Regions from separate parts of the Homo sapiens genome. Here region 1 is linked to region 2. Evidence: promoter capture Hi-C in human tissues and cell types (Jung and others, 2019). All regions are on one chromosome and are shown on one strand. Each heading gives the region's core, a stretch centred on a gene start or on the middle of the fragment in contact. The rest is flanking DNA. Distances are from core to core; before and after follow the strand shown.

Region 1 (6,493 bases), core at 3,772-6,271, 210 kb before region 2:
TTTTTTTTTGACAGAGTCTTGCTCTCTCACCGAGGCTGGAGTGTAGTGGTACAATTTTGGCTCACTGCAACCTCCGCCTTCCGGATTCAAGCGATTCTCGTGCCTCAGCCTCCTGAGTAGCTGGGATTACAGACATGCATCACCACACCCGGCTCAGTTTTGTATTTTTAGTAGAGATGGGGTTTCACCATGTTGGCTAGGCTGGTCTCGAACTCCTGACCTCATGTGATCCGCCCACCTAATTTTGTGTTTTTAGTAGAGATGGGGTTTTGCCATGTTACCCAGGCTGGTCTCAAACTCCTGACCTCAAGGGATACACCCACCTTGGCCTCCCAAAGTGCTGGGATTACAGGTGTGAGCCACCGTGCCCGGCCAGGAACATTTACATGTCTCATTCACCTGGTCTGTAAGCGCCTTGAAAGTAGGAACCAAGTTTAATTTCCCTTGTAGTCCACTTCCTCGATTAAACTGCAGTTGATGGTTTACAAACGCAGTTGCTTATAAAGGCCAAAGGCAATGTAAACAAGTGAAGCTTGCCAAGTAGAAAGTTCCCTGGAAGCCATGTCCTGTGTAAAGAGGGCAGCTGCTACTTGGCTTTAAGCCAGTCGCAGGTCCACTGTTCTCTAATCTTCCCAGTTTTCAAGAGAAACCAGAAACAATTCCAACTAGTTTAGTATTTTAAGTACACAAATTGGGTCAGAGAAAATACATCTACAGGAAGCAAAACTAAATCCATTTCATGTTTCAAGATCTTTGCAGTGGATGGATGGATGGATGGATGGATGGATGGATGGATGGATGGATGGATGGATGGGTGGGTGGATGGGTGGATGGGTGGGTGGATGGCTGGGTGGATGGATGGATGCGCGAGTGAATGAGTGAATCTGGATCATTGCGGCTGCTCTCTGGTTGAAACTGGGGGAGTAGAGATACACTATCTACTATATGCCTGGCCGTGTGCAAGGGGCTTTATATACTTATGTCATTTGACCTTCATAACAACACCACAGAGTGGTTATCATTCTTATTTATCTCCATACTCATTTCACGGATAAAGAAACAGAGGCTTAGGAAGACTCAAGGTCACGCTGCTAGTTTTCTTTATTTAGAGCCCACCTAATTCCAAAAAAAAAAAGGATTTCAGATGGGCTCATGTGATTGAAGCTGGGTCCTGAACTTTGGATTTCAGATAGCTCTGTTACACAAAATCGCCACTACAAAGGGAATCAGGTTTTCAGAAGGTAGGTAAGGGGGAATGCCAACAGGTCAGGGAGTAGGTTTGATTTGTGAAAGGAAAATAAAAACTTGGGACCCCAATTCACTCTGTCGAAAGGAAAAAAGATAAGCCGAAAGCTGAGACATGCCAGAAGCTGCCTTTCCTTTTGTTCCTAAACAGATAGCTACAGGTAAAAGGTTAACTATCTCAACAGATAGCTATTCTATGTTCACCATATCTTATGTAAACTGCTGGATTTACTGAGCATGAGACAAATATATAATGGACTATTCCCCTACCTGCTCCTTTTCTCTTATAACATGTGGATTCAGTGATGTGACCATTCCCTCCCTCTTTCCCCGCTTTTCCCCTTTAAATACTGAAGCTCTCAAAATCATCTTTGGAGAAAGGCACAGACCACAGACTGTTCCTCTGATTCTGTATTTTTTTCTCCCCGGCATTGTCCTTAACCTTGGCAAAATAAACTTCTCAATTGATTGAGACCTGTCTCAGATACTTTTTGGGTTACAAATTGGCAACCCGTGAATGGCCTCTGAATGGAGGTGGCCCTGACCTCTGACAAATCTATCGTTGCTTGGTACTGGTTTGAGCTGTCTTTATTGCTCAAACCAACAGGACAGTTTTCTGGGTCCAGGAGCTCCCCCTTAAGAGAATGAGACCTGTCTCAGATACCTTTTGGTTTAGAGATTCCCTGAGCATCTTACTAAGCAAGTCATAGCTTCATGCTCCTCAAGGATCCCAGCCAACACTAAGGAGCTAAGACACAAGGGGGTCTCTTGCCATCTTGGTGTGTCCTTTCTATTTCCTCCTGTCTCCCTACTTACTCTCCTCTTGGAAGTCAAGATTTCTACCTATCAGCCTTGGGGCTCATTCCATCTTAATTCCTTTGTAAAGCCCAGTAGGAGGACAGAGACGCAGATACAGGAGCTGTTGGATGGAAAATGTTTTATTGGAGTTCCTGAGGCAGGAAAGAGTTATGGTAGGTTGAGAATCAGCGCTCACGCTAGCCCCCTCTTCCAGTGGAGGTCATGGTCACTGGGCATCAGGAGTTGCGCTCCTCAGTCCTTTCAGCTAGAGGGAGAGGGGTCAGGGTTAGATGGGGAACCCGTGGGTGCCCAGTATAGGATGGCATGGATGGAAAGGAATTTCTGCCTCGGTGTGAGTTCCCGTTCTCCTCTATATGTAGTAGCTAAGACCTCCCTTCAGTTTGGTGAGAAGGCTGATCCTCCTTTCCCTGTCCCCACTCTCTCTCCCATATCTTCTGCTTCTTCCCTTACCCCCAAGCTCCATACCCTCCTAATGCCCACACCTCTTACCTTAGGAAAGGCATCCCAGTTGAGGAAAGGAAGTTTCCTTTTGATAGACTAAAAGAAAGAAAGAGAAAGAGAGTGATGTGTTGCAGGTCAGCCGGGCATGGATGGGTAAGCATTCCCTTAATGAACTCCCACAGTAACCATAGTAACAATAATGTCATTATTTTGTCATTACTTTATCAAGAGCTAATATTTCCTGAGGCCTTAGTCTGTGTCTGCCTTGCACGGGCTGCTCTACAAGCATGATTTCAGTGGGTTTTTACAGCAACCTTTTGTGGTGGGAATTGTCATCATCCCCACATCACAGAGGAAGCGGAGGCCGAGGGAGCTGAAGGCGTTCGCATGAGGCCATGTGAGAAGTCAGTGCAGAGTCAGGAGACGCGGGCCCCAGCTCTGTCGCTGACTTTGCCTTCTAAGTGCGGGTGGGCCTCAGTTTTTCCATAGAGGATGAGGGGATTCAAATAAAATCTTGACCGATTAGCCTCTTCCTCTTCTGCAATTGTCCTTGGGGCCCTGCTCCTCCACCACCATCTTAGGAAAACACGGGTAGCCAGGACTGGCGCCGGGGGAAGCTTTCTTCCGTTGACAGCCCATTGGGCAGCATCCAGGCAGGACAGTCACTCCCTCCCAGAGATCAGGAACCAACCCATACATTTAAAGCCAAAATGTGTGGCCACTACCCTGGGATGACTGCAGACAACCGAGGAGGGCAAGGGGCGCCGGAGCACTCACCTCAAAGAGGGCGTGCCAGTTCAGGAACTCATCAGCCTTAAACGCCTGAGGAGGAAGAGAGACAGCAGAAGCAGGTCAGCTCCAGGGGAGGCCAGAGCTTAGCCCCCAGCCCTCTGGAGAAGGTGAAGGAACCGTGGCAGCTTTGCAAGCTCTCTACCAAGGCGTTTATCCCCTCTGTGATGAGGGTATTCGTGGGGGTAGCACCAGAGAAGCGTACTCACAGATCGCAATTTGTCGATGTTCAGGAACGGGGTGTTAAAGGCCTAGGCAGAAACGCAGGGTGTTAGGAAAGTTGCTAAGAAGCAAAAAGAGAGAGAGGACAGACTCGTGGCTGGAGGGCCGGGGAAAACAGACGGCTTACCTCGGGTCGTGACGCATAATTCTCAATGGTGCTTTCTTCCTGGAAAAGGAGAGGGAGAAAAGGCGGCAGGGGGTCACGTGATGCCAGGGCCCTTGCCCACATCCCTGTCTGCCAGCTCTGCCTTCATCCACAGCCCAGTCCCCGAAAGAACGCAACCCATTCCCCACCATGGTCTCCGTTCCAGTCGCGCACATGGTTGGCGGATGTGCAGGGTGAGGAGGGGGAATTGGAGAATGGTACATGTAAGCAGTGTCACCATGGGCAGCAGGCAGAAAGCCTGGAGCCGAGCATTCCTCTCCGGAAAAGCTAGCTAGTGCTGTCCTGCAGTTGACTTAAGTCTAAGAGGTGGGGTGTTCTGGAGACACCCACGCTCAGTCCGTATAGCTGGATGGGAAAGATTTGCGAGCAGGTGGGAGCCCAGCTGCTGAGGTGACCCGCCTGCCTCTCACTGATCGAGGTTGCTTTGCTTTGTGGATTTATTGCCACCACTGTTGGAGGTTCCATAATCCCCCTCCATGGGGACCCCACCCCAGGCCTCAGTGTGTCCCATCGTGTCTTCCCCATGACAGAGCCCAACACGGAGCCCGCAGGCTGGATCCAGATGCTTAGATCTCATAAAAATTTGGTCATTTGTTTTTTGGTTTGAATTAGACATTTTGAATTAGTAAGAATTCATAAATTCATCCAGATTTCTAGTTTCCCCTGAAAAATGTAAAACTCTAGGCACATCTTCCCAATCCATGGCGTCAGGTGGGGTGAAAGCTGCCCTTTCAGACTGGGAAAGTTGGCCCCATTTCACCTCAGGCCCTGACAGCCCCCCCAGCTCAGTGACACCACTGGCTTGGTCCTTAGCAGCTGAGCCTGTGCCCCTGTCTTAGACTTTTAAATCCGGAATAGGCATCAGGATTCCTCTCTGGCTGAGGACTGGATGGTAAAGATTCTCACTGTGGCCTATGCTCCAGAGACAGCAGGGAGCCACCCGTCACCTGGGCACCACTCCCAGGGGCACAAATGAAGCAAAGAGGAGCTAAGCAGGGGTGTCTCCAGAACACCCCAGCCCCACTCCTCTTTGAGTTAAGTCAGCTGCAGGCAGAACTAGCTAGTTTTTTGCTTTGCTTCACCCTCTCCACCTGCTGCCCATGTGGATGCAGGCCTGGGTTTGGAGCTGCTCTGCCTCACATTGCCGTTCTCCAGTTCCCCCTCTTCCCCTGCACGTCCCCAGGCATGTGTGCAGCTGGAACGGAATGGGTGAACACTCTTGAGAGCCCATGGTGGAGATAGTCTGAACCCAGACCACCCACTCAGTCCCAAGGTTCAGTACACGAGCCTCCCCAACACACTTCACCATCCCTTCCAGAAAGAGGAGCATCTCTGTCCCAAATGTCTCCCCAGGGATGCTCTGTTCCCTCCTCCCTTCCTCAGAGCCCCAGTTTCTTCAGCCCCCATCAGAATCCAAAACTAAGAGCCACTTATCCAGGAATGGACAGGAGGTAGAGAGATGGAGGGGTAGGTGGGTAACACGTATAAGAATAAAAATGCAGGTGACGTGCTCACCTCAGGACCACCCAGGGTGGCTCCCTGGGCAGAGTGGAGCACCAGGAGGGAGAGGAGCACCACGGCAGGAAGGACCGGGATCTTCATGGCGTCAAGTTTGGGGTGCTCTGAGGCGGGGCCTCAGTGCTTGCTCTTTATATTGCCAAGGAGGCAGATGAGCACAGAAATGGGGTCCCCACCCCACTGACTCACCCCCAGATCTTGTCGCCCACCCCCGGGGCTCTGGGAGGGGGAGGCATGGACTGTTCCTCATTTGCCTCGGATTTCTCAATTCGCATTCTGCCCCAGGCACGTGGAAGGTAACACTGCAATGGGTCTCTTCATGCAGATGGGGCTGGGACAGAGACAGGTTGGACCTGTCCCTCCAAGGGATTGGCAGTGGTACCCAAGCAACCTCTCCTTTTGTCTTTGTCTCTTTTCGTTATATCCCTCATTCCTCTCTTAGAATTCAGGCTTTTTCTTTTCTTTTCTTTTCTTTTTTTTTGACAGGCTCTCACTCGTTGCCCAGACTGGAGTGCAGTGGTGTGATCACAGCTCACTGCAGCCTTGACCTCCCAGGCTCAAGCAATCCTCCCACCTCAGTCTCCCTAGTAGCTGGGACTAGAGGCACGCATCACCTCACCTAGCTAACTTTTTTATTTTCTTGTAGAGATGTTGCAGCTTTTTTTTTTTTTAATTTTCTCGTAGAGATGAAAATGTCTCGCCATGTTGCCCAAGCTGGCCTCAAACTCCTGGACTCAAGGGGTCCGCCTGCCTTGACCTCCCAAAGGACTATAGGTGTGAGCCTGCGCTCCATGCTCATTCAGGCCTTTTCTTCCACCCTACCAAAATCTATGTAAACTCTTTAGCTTGGCATTGAAGGTGGTCCATGCTCTGAACTCAACCCACCTTTATAACTTCTTCCTTTACTAGCTTTGTACATACCTCACATTCTGGCCAAATTAGACCCCTTACCAACTATATCCTTCTTTTTCCCTCTTCAAAGCATCCGGCCATGCTGTTCCTTATTCCTAACATGGCCTTCTCTCATCTCCAGTTCTCAGAACCCAACACTCATCTTGGATGAAGCTTCCCAGATTTTTCCTGCAATGCCCAGTCCTTCTCTCCACACCTTTCCTTTCACAGAATTCCCATATTCATTCGTTTGTATGTCTCTGGCATTGTATCTAAGTAAGTCATGTTCTCGCCTTGTTTCCCTTTTAGAGTATCAAGTTCCTTGAGGTCAGGAGCTGTATCTTGATCAGCTTTACATCCCCCTAGAACCATGGCTCACACAGAACCCAGGTAGAGTCAGCA
Region 2 (6,680 bases), core at 43-2,542:
CGCCCTCCTCGGCCTCCCAAAGTGCTGGGTTTTCAGGCGTGAGCCACCGTGCCCTGCCTGGCTGGCTCTTTTATTTTATTTTTATTTATTTATTAGAGACAGGGCCTCACTGTGTCGCCCAGGCTGCAGTGCAGTGGTGTGATCATAGCTCACTGCAGCCTCGACCTCCTGGGCTCAAGCGATCCTACTACCACCTGGACCTCTCAAAGCCCTGGGATTACGGGCATGAGCCACCGTGCCTGGCCTTGGCTTGCTCTTACGGGCCTCCCAGCCAATCAGGTGTGGCGGCAGCCTACACACCCCCTACACACCTCACAGATGGTAAAGGGTTGAGAGAAAGGTGACAGGGTTTGCAAATGGGAGCTACTTAGGGTGGCAAAATAGAAGCAAGAAAGGCAGGTCAGGCACGGTGTCTCACGGCTGTAGTTCCAGAATTTTGGGAGGCCCAGGTGGAAGGATTGCTTGAGCCCAGGAGTTCGAGGCTGCAGTGAGCTATGATTGCACCATTGCACCCCAGCACCGGCAACAGAGGGAGACCCCGTTCATAAAATAAAAATGAAATAATAATTTTTTAAAAAGCCGGGCGTGGTGGCTCACGCCTGTAATCCCAGCACTTTGGGAGGCCGAGGCGAGTGGATCACGAGGTCAGGAGATCGAGACCATCCTGGCTAACATGGTGAAACCCCATCTCTACTAAATGTACAAAAAATTAGCCGGGCGTGATGGCGGGCGCCTGTAGTCCCAGCTACTTGGGAGGCTAAGGCAGGAGAATGGTGTGAGCCCGGGAGTCGGAGCTTGCAGTGAGCAGAGATCGCGCCACTGCACTCCAGCCTGGGCGACAGAGCGAGACTCTGTCTCAAAAAAAAAAAAAAAAAAAAGGACAGTAGTACTCCTGAGCACTTGCTGAGGGAGCCTCCAGGGCTGTTCAGGTGAAGGAGAATCAGGGTCCAGTCTCTTCGTGGAGAGAGTGGGAAAAGGCAGACTCCACAGCAGATCAACGCTGGGGCCCGGCTGGAAATCAATGAAATCTCAGCCTAAGAGGCCTGAAGCCTATGGACCAATGAGACTCAAGGCTCTGCCCCTTCACAGCCAATCAGCTGCGGGTCCGAGGCAGACGCGCGGGAGTGGCGCTGTCCTAGGTGCCTCCCAGGCTGCCCAGCGTGCTCAGCTGGCCTGAGCGGGAGAATGCGGCCCGCGCTGCAGCCAATCAGCGTCCGCCTCAGGATCCAGGGGTGACCACGTGCGGGAGCGTTGCGTCCCTGGCCTCGCTCCATTCCCCACTTTTAACGGTCACTCGGCCTTAAGCCGTCCTGGGTGTATGTGAGGCTGAAAGGGAAGGAGGAACAGGGTCTGGGCCGGTGAGTGCCATAGTTTTTCTTACTTTACTTTCTTGGGCTTGGGCCCGGCCCAGGCAAATCTGGGGTATGGGGGCTTGACTGGACCTCGTTGATGATTGGGAAGTGCGGGTTGAGGGCTTTAGCCCTTGGGGCTTTCCTCTGCCTTTGAGAGGCTGGAAATGCAGCCTCCTGGCCACCTTTAGGCCTAGGTTTGGCAGAGGCTAAGCCAGCTTGCTCTCTGAGTTGGTCCACGGCCCCCGAGGCCAGCCTGAGTAGGAAGGGTGTTGTGGGGAAGTTGGAGGTCCTTAACTCTGCATGAGGTATGGCCTCCGGACAATGAGAGCTTATCAAGGGTCTCTGGACTGAGCCTGGATCCGGTGACTGAAAGGAGAGGCCTGTGGATCTCCAAAGGTTATGCAGGGGCTGGGCGCGGTGGCTCACGCCTGTAATCCCAGCACTTTGGGAGGCTGAGGCAGGTGGATCATTTGAGGTCAGGAGTTTGAGACCAGCCTGGCCAACATGGAGAAACCCTGTCTCTACGGGGTTTCTAAAAAAAATTACCTGGGCGTGGTGGCACACGTCCGTAATCCCAGCTACTCAGAAAGCTGAGGCAGGAGAATCGCTTGAACTCATTGAACTCAGGAGATGAACGTTGCAGTGAGCTGAGATCACGCCATTGCACTCCAGCCTGGGCGACAGAATGAGACCCTGTCTCAAGAAAAAAAATGAAAAGAAAAAAAAAGTTATGTAGGAAGTCACTGGCCAAGAGATGAAACTAGTGTGCACATGAAGGTTTCCTGGGGTCTTTGGAGCCAGCCTGGGCTGGGAGTGAATGTTCTGGACTCCAGGTTGAGATGTTCTTGGCAGATTTCCCAGTATGGAGTCCAGGTTGGATGATGTGGCCAAGAGGTTAGGCCAGTAATCCTCTGGAGATTCTAGGGAGAAGGATTCTGAATCCCAGCCGAGCTGTTTGCGCTGGATGAAGTATTATTGCCTTGTGGTGGCTCTGTACAGAACTGGGATTGGGTGGCCAGGCGTGGTGGCTCACACCTGTAATCCCAGCACTTTGGGAGGCTGAGGTGGGTGGATCACCAGGTCAGGAGCTCGAGACCAGCCTGACCAACATGGTGAAACCCTGTCTCTACTAAAAATACAAAAATTAGCCAGGTGTGGTGGCAGGTGCCTGTAATCCCAGCTACTCAGGAGTCTGAGGCAGGAGAATCCCTTGAACCCACGAGGCGGAGGTTGCAGTGAGCAGAGATCGCACCACTGCACTCCAGCCTGGGCAACAGAGCAATGCTCTGTCTCAAAAAAAAAAAATTAATTAAAAAAAAAAAAAAGCAGGGCCAGGCGTGGGGGCTCACATCTATAATCCCAGCACTTTGAGAGGCCAAGGCGGGCGGATTACCTGAGGTCAGAAGTTTGAGACCAGCATGACCAACATGGAGAAACCCCATCTCTACTAAAAATACAAAATTAGCTGGGCGTGGTGGCACATGCCTGTAATCCCAGCTACTAGGGAGGCTGAGGCAGGAGAATCGCTTGTACCTGGGAGGCGGAGGTTGCGGTGAGCCGAGATCGTGCCATTGCACTCCAGCCTGGGCAACAAGAGCGAAACTCCATCTCAAAAAAAAAAAAAAAACTGGAATTGGGTCATGTCTGGAGCTTTTCATTCTCCCTGTCCCACTCTTTCCCATGCCTGTTCTGATAATTCCTAGAAGATGAAGATATCAGGCTGTAGGTGCGGGGCAGGTGCATGGGGAGGATGAACATCGTAGTGGAGCACAGGAAGAGGTGTGTGAGATATTCTCCTCTTTAGGAAATCACCCAGGTTTTTGGCAGGGCGTGGTGGCTCACACCTGTAATCCTAGCACTTTGGGAGGCCGAGGCAGGTGGATCACCTGAGGTCAGGAGTTCAAGACCAGCCTGGCCAACGTGGTGAAACCCCATCTCTACTAAAAATGCAAAAAATTAGCCGGGCATGGTAGATGCCTGTAATCCCAGCTACTTAGGAGCCTGAGGTAGGAGAATCACTTGAACCCAGGAGGCAGAGGTTGCAGTGAGCCGAGATCGCGCCACTGCACTCCAGCCTGGGCAACAAGGGCAAAACTCTGTCTCAAAAATAAATAAGTAAATAACATAAAGGAAATCACCCAGGTTGTCTTTACTGATGATCTTTTTTATACTCATGGGGCAGGGTGTTGATACCTAGTTTCATTCAGCTGTTCAGTGGTATTTATGCTTTCGGAGTGCCTTCAGTACACCCAGAGTTCTTTAACCAGGGGTGAGGGTGCAAGGAGTGGCTTATGAGTGGACTTCAAGGAAGTCTAACCCCGAAACCAGTTAATATTGGGGCAGCTCAATTGGCCATTCCCTCTATGGTGTGGTGGGGGCCCGGGGTGCTGGCACATGAAGTGTGCAGTTAATCCCAGCTCGGCAGACAGCCACCAAGCATGATGGCACATGCCTGTAATCCCAGCTACTCAGGAGGCTGAGATAGGGGGATGACTTGAGCCCAGGATGTCAAGACTGCAGTGAGCCATGATTGTGCCACTGCACTCCAGGCTGGGTGACAGAGCAAGACTGTGTCTCTAAAAAAAAAAAAAAAAAAAAAGAACAATTAATGGTATGCATGTATATTATGAGGAGGGGAGGGTAAAGAATAAGCTAGACGATAGTTAACCTCTCCAGCCATGAGGCTCAGAGTAATCTGTCAATCTCTTGTCATGCATTCATATGCCAAGTGGTATAAGTGTCTACCATTTTCTTTTTTTTTTTTTTTTTCGAGATGGAGTCTTAGCTCTGTTACCAGGCTGGAGTGCAGTGGTGTGATCTTGGCTCACTGCAACCTCCGCCTCCCGGGTTTAAGCAATTCTCCTGCCTCAGCCTCCCAAGTAGCTGGGATTACAGGCACGTGCCACCACGCCCAGCTAATTTTTGTATTTTTAGTAGAGACGGCATTTCACCATGTTGGCCAGGACGGTCTCTATCTCTTCACCTTGTGATCCGCCCACCTCGGCCTCCCAAAGTGCTGGGATTACAGGCGTGAGCCACCGCACCCGGCCTGTGTCTACCATTTTCTAATGTCAACAATTGGTCCCAGGCTGGGTGGCTCACACTTGTAATCCCTGCACTCTGGGAGGCTGAGGCGGGTGGATCACTTGAGGTCAGAAGTTTGAGACCAGCCTGGCCAACATGGTAAAACCTCATCTCTACTAAAAATACAAAAATTAGCCGGGTGTCGTGGTGCGTGCCTGTAGTCCCAGCTACTCAGGAGGCTGAGGCAGGAGAATCTCTTGAACCTGGGAGGCAGAGGTTGCACTGAGCCAAGATCGTGCCACTGCACTCCAGTCTGGGTGACAGAAGGAGACTCTGTCTCAATAAAAAGAAGAGTTAGTCCCATGGGTGACATTCTGAACCTGATGGTGACTCCCTAAGAGATTTAGAACCATTGGAATAAAGTAGGTTCCTATATTATTTATGGGGCCTGGGCAAGATGACAGAGACTCCCTCGTCTCTTCCCATGCCTGGTGTTGGCCCATACTTCAAGGTGTCTCACATTCTAGCCTGCACATCCAAGCTCAGTCTACAAATCCCTTACACAAAATCAGGGTCTAGCGTGTGTGTACATCAGTCAGAGTCCACTCTCATGAATACAGGCCTGGGGTTGAGTCCTGTGTAGGGGGCCTCAGAGTCATTTGGTCCAGGAAATCCAGGGTGCTGAGTTCTCAGAGCATGGTCCAGAAGTGAGGTGGGAGCTCACAGTTCCGGGTAGGCACTTTCTAGATGCCTTTTGACTCAGCCTATGCGAAGGGATACAGCCAGAGGAGGTCCAAATGGGACCCTTTGCCCAGGTTTAAGTCAACACTAGTATTCTGTACTGGTCTTGAAACAGCCCCTGTGAGGAAATTGAGGGTCTTGGAAGACTTAGCTCCATATGAGTGCTGAAGAGAAGGGCCATTCACTGTGAAGGGATGCAGTGAAACCTGTTTTCCAACTTCTAGTCTAGTTCTTTTTCCAGTTAATCCACAAAGTGTGTGCTATGAAGGGGCTAGATTCAGCTCACCTGGGTATGACTATAGCTGGTTCTTGGATCATATAGAGCACAAATTTAAGGGAAAAAGGGAACTAATTCACTCCTTGTGGTGACTCTTTTCTGGAAGTCTTGGATGTACTTAACCAGAAAGACGGAACATCTTTTTTTTCTTTTTTCTTTTTTCTTTTTTTTTTTTTGAGACAGAGTTTCGCTCTTGTTGCTCAGGCTAGAGTGCAATGGCGCGATCTCGGCTCACCGCAACCTCCACCTCCCGGGTTGAAGCGATTCTCCTGCCTCAGCCTCTCGAGTAGCTGGAATTACAGGCATGTGCCGCCACGCCCAGCTAATTTTTTTTATTTTTTGTAGAGACAGGGTTTCTCCATGTTGGTCAGGCTGGTCTTGAACTCCCGACCTCAGATGATCCGCTTGCCTCCACCTCCCAGAGTGCTGGGATTACAGGTGTGAGCCACTGCGCCTGGCGAAAGAGTAAACATACTTAAAGTTCATGTAAGATTTGGATAATCGCTCTTAATCTATATAAAATGCTGTGGGGAATTTAACCACCTTCATTTGTGGAAAGAGATGGGTTCACGGGAAGAGTGGCGAGTTCACAGAATTTTTCTAAATTGAATCTTGTTCAACTTGGCTTGGGAAGAGGGCTTGATATTTAAAATAAGTGAAATAGAGGGAGAACTTTTTCACAAAACAAATGATCATCCCTCCCATTGGTCTATTCTGATGGTTTGATTTTAATTATAATATTTAAGGAGAATTGGTATTTGTGTTGCTGTGTTGACATTGTTACATCAAGCTGGGTTGTGCCTCAAGAAGTTCATGATACAAGGATTTCTGGGAAGCTTTGACTTTGCAGCCAGGGTGTGCCCCGAGCCCCTTGCACATTTTTCCCTTAGTGTCCCATTGGTCAAGTCTACCAGTAAGAATAAGAACTATCAGATTTCAGGCCAGGCGTGGTGCCTCATGCCTGTATCACAGCATTTTGGGATGCCAAGGCGGGCAGATCATGAGGTCAGGAGTTCGAGACCAGCCTGGCCAACATGGTGAAACCCTGTCTCTACTAAAAATACAAAAAATTAGCCGGGTTTGGTGATGCACACCTGTGATCCCAGCTACTCGGGAGGCTGAGGCAGGAGAATCACTTGAACCCAGGAGGCGGAGGTTACAGTGAGCCGAGATTGCGCCACTGCACTCCAGCCTGGGCAATAGAGCAAGACTCTGTCTCAAAAAAAAAAAAATCAGATTTCAAATTTTATTCAGTAATACGAGTATTAGGCCGGGCATGTAGGCTC

The links. Contacts are between HindIII fragments. The study calls those that stand out against the background at their distance.
Region 1: a contact is called between a fragment that was not itself captured here and the fragment with the promoter of ZBTB32 in region 2, in 4 of the 25 tissues and cell types used here (aorta, liver, pancreas and 1 more).

Annotation. Positions count from the first base shown.
Region 1 is chr19:35,485,159-35,491,651 of GRCh38, forward strand. KRTDAP (keratinocyte differentiation associated protein) reads right to left here and starts at 5,306. Exons shown (of 6, transcript NM_207392.3): 1 at 5,198-5,306; 2 at 3,644-3,682; 3 at 3,504-3,545; 4 at 3,283-3,327; 5 at 2,554-2,601; 6 at 2,166-2,308. The coding sequence starts at 5,284. The coding sequence ends at 2,270. The HindIII fragment of the contact is 6,388 bases long and covers 1,828-6,493 here.
Region 2 is chr19:35,703,266-35,709,945 of GRCh38, forward strand. It overlaps ZBTB32 (zinc finger and BTB domain containing 32), which reads left to right and starts at 1,293. Exons shown (of 7, transcript NM_014383.3): 1 at 1,293-1,358. The HindIII fragment of the contact is 13,873 bases long and covers 1-6,680 here.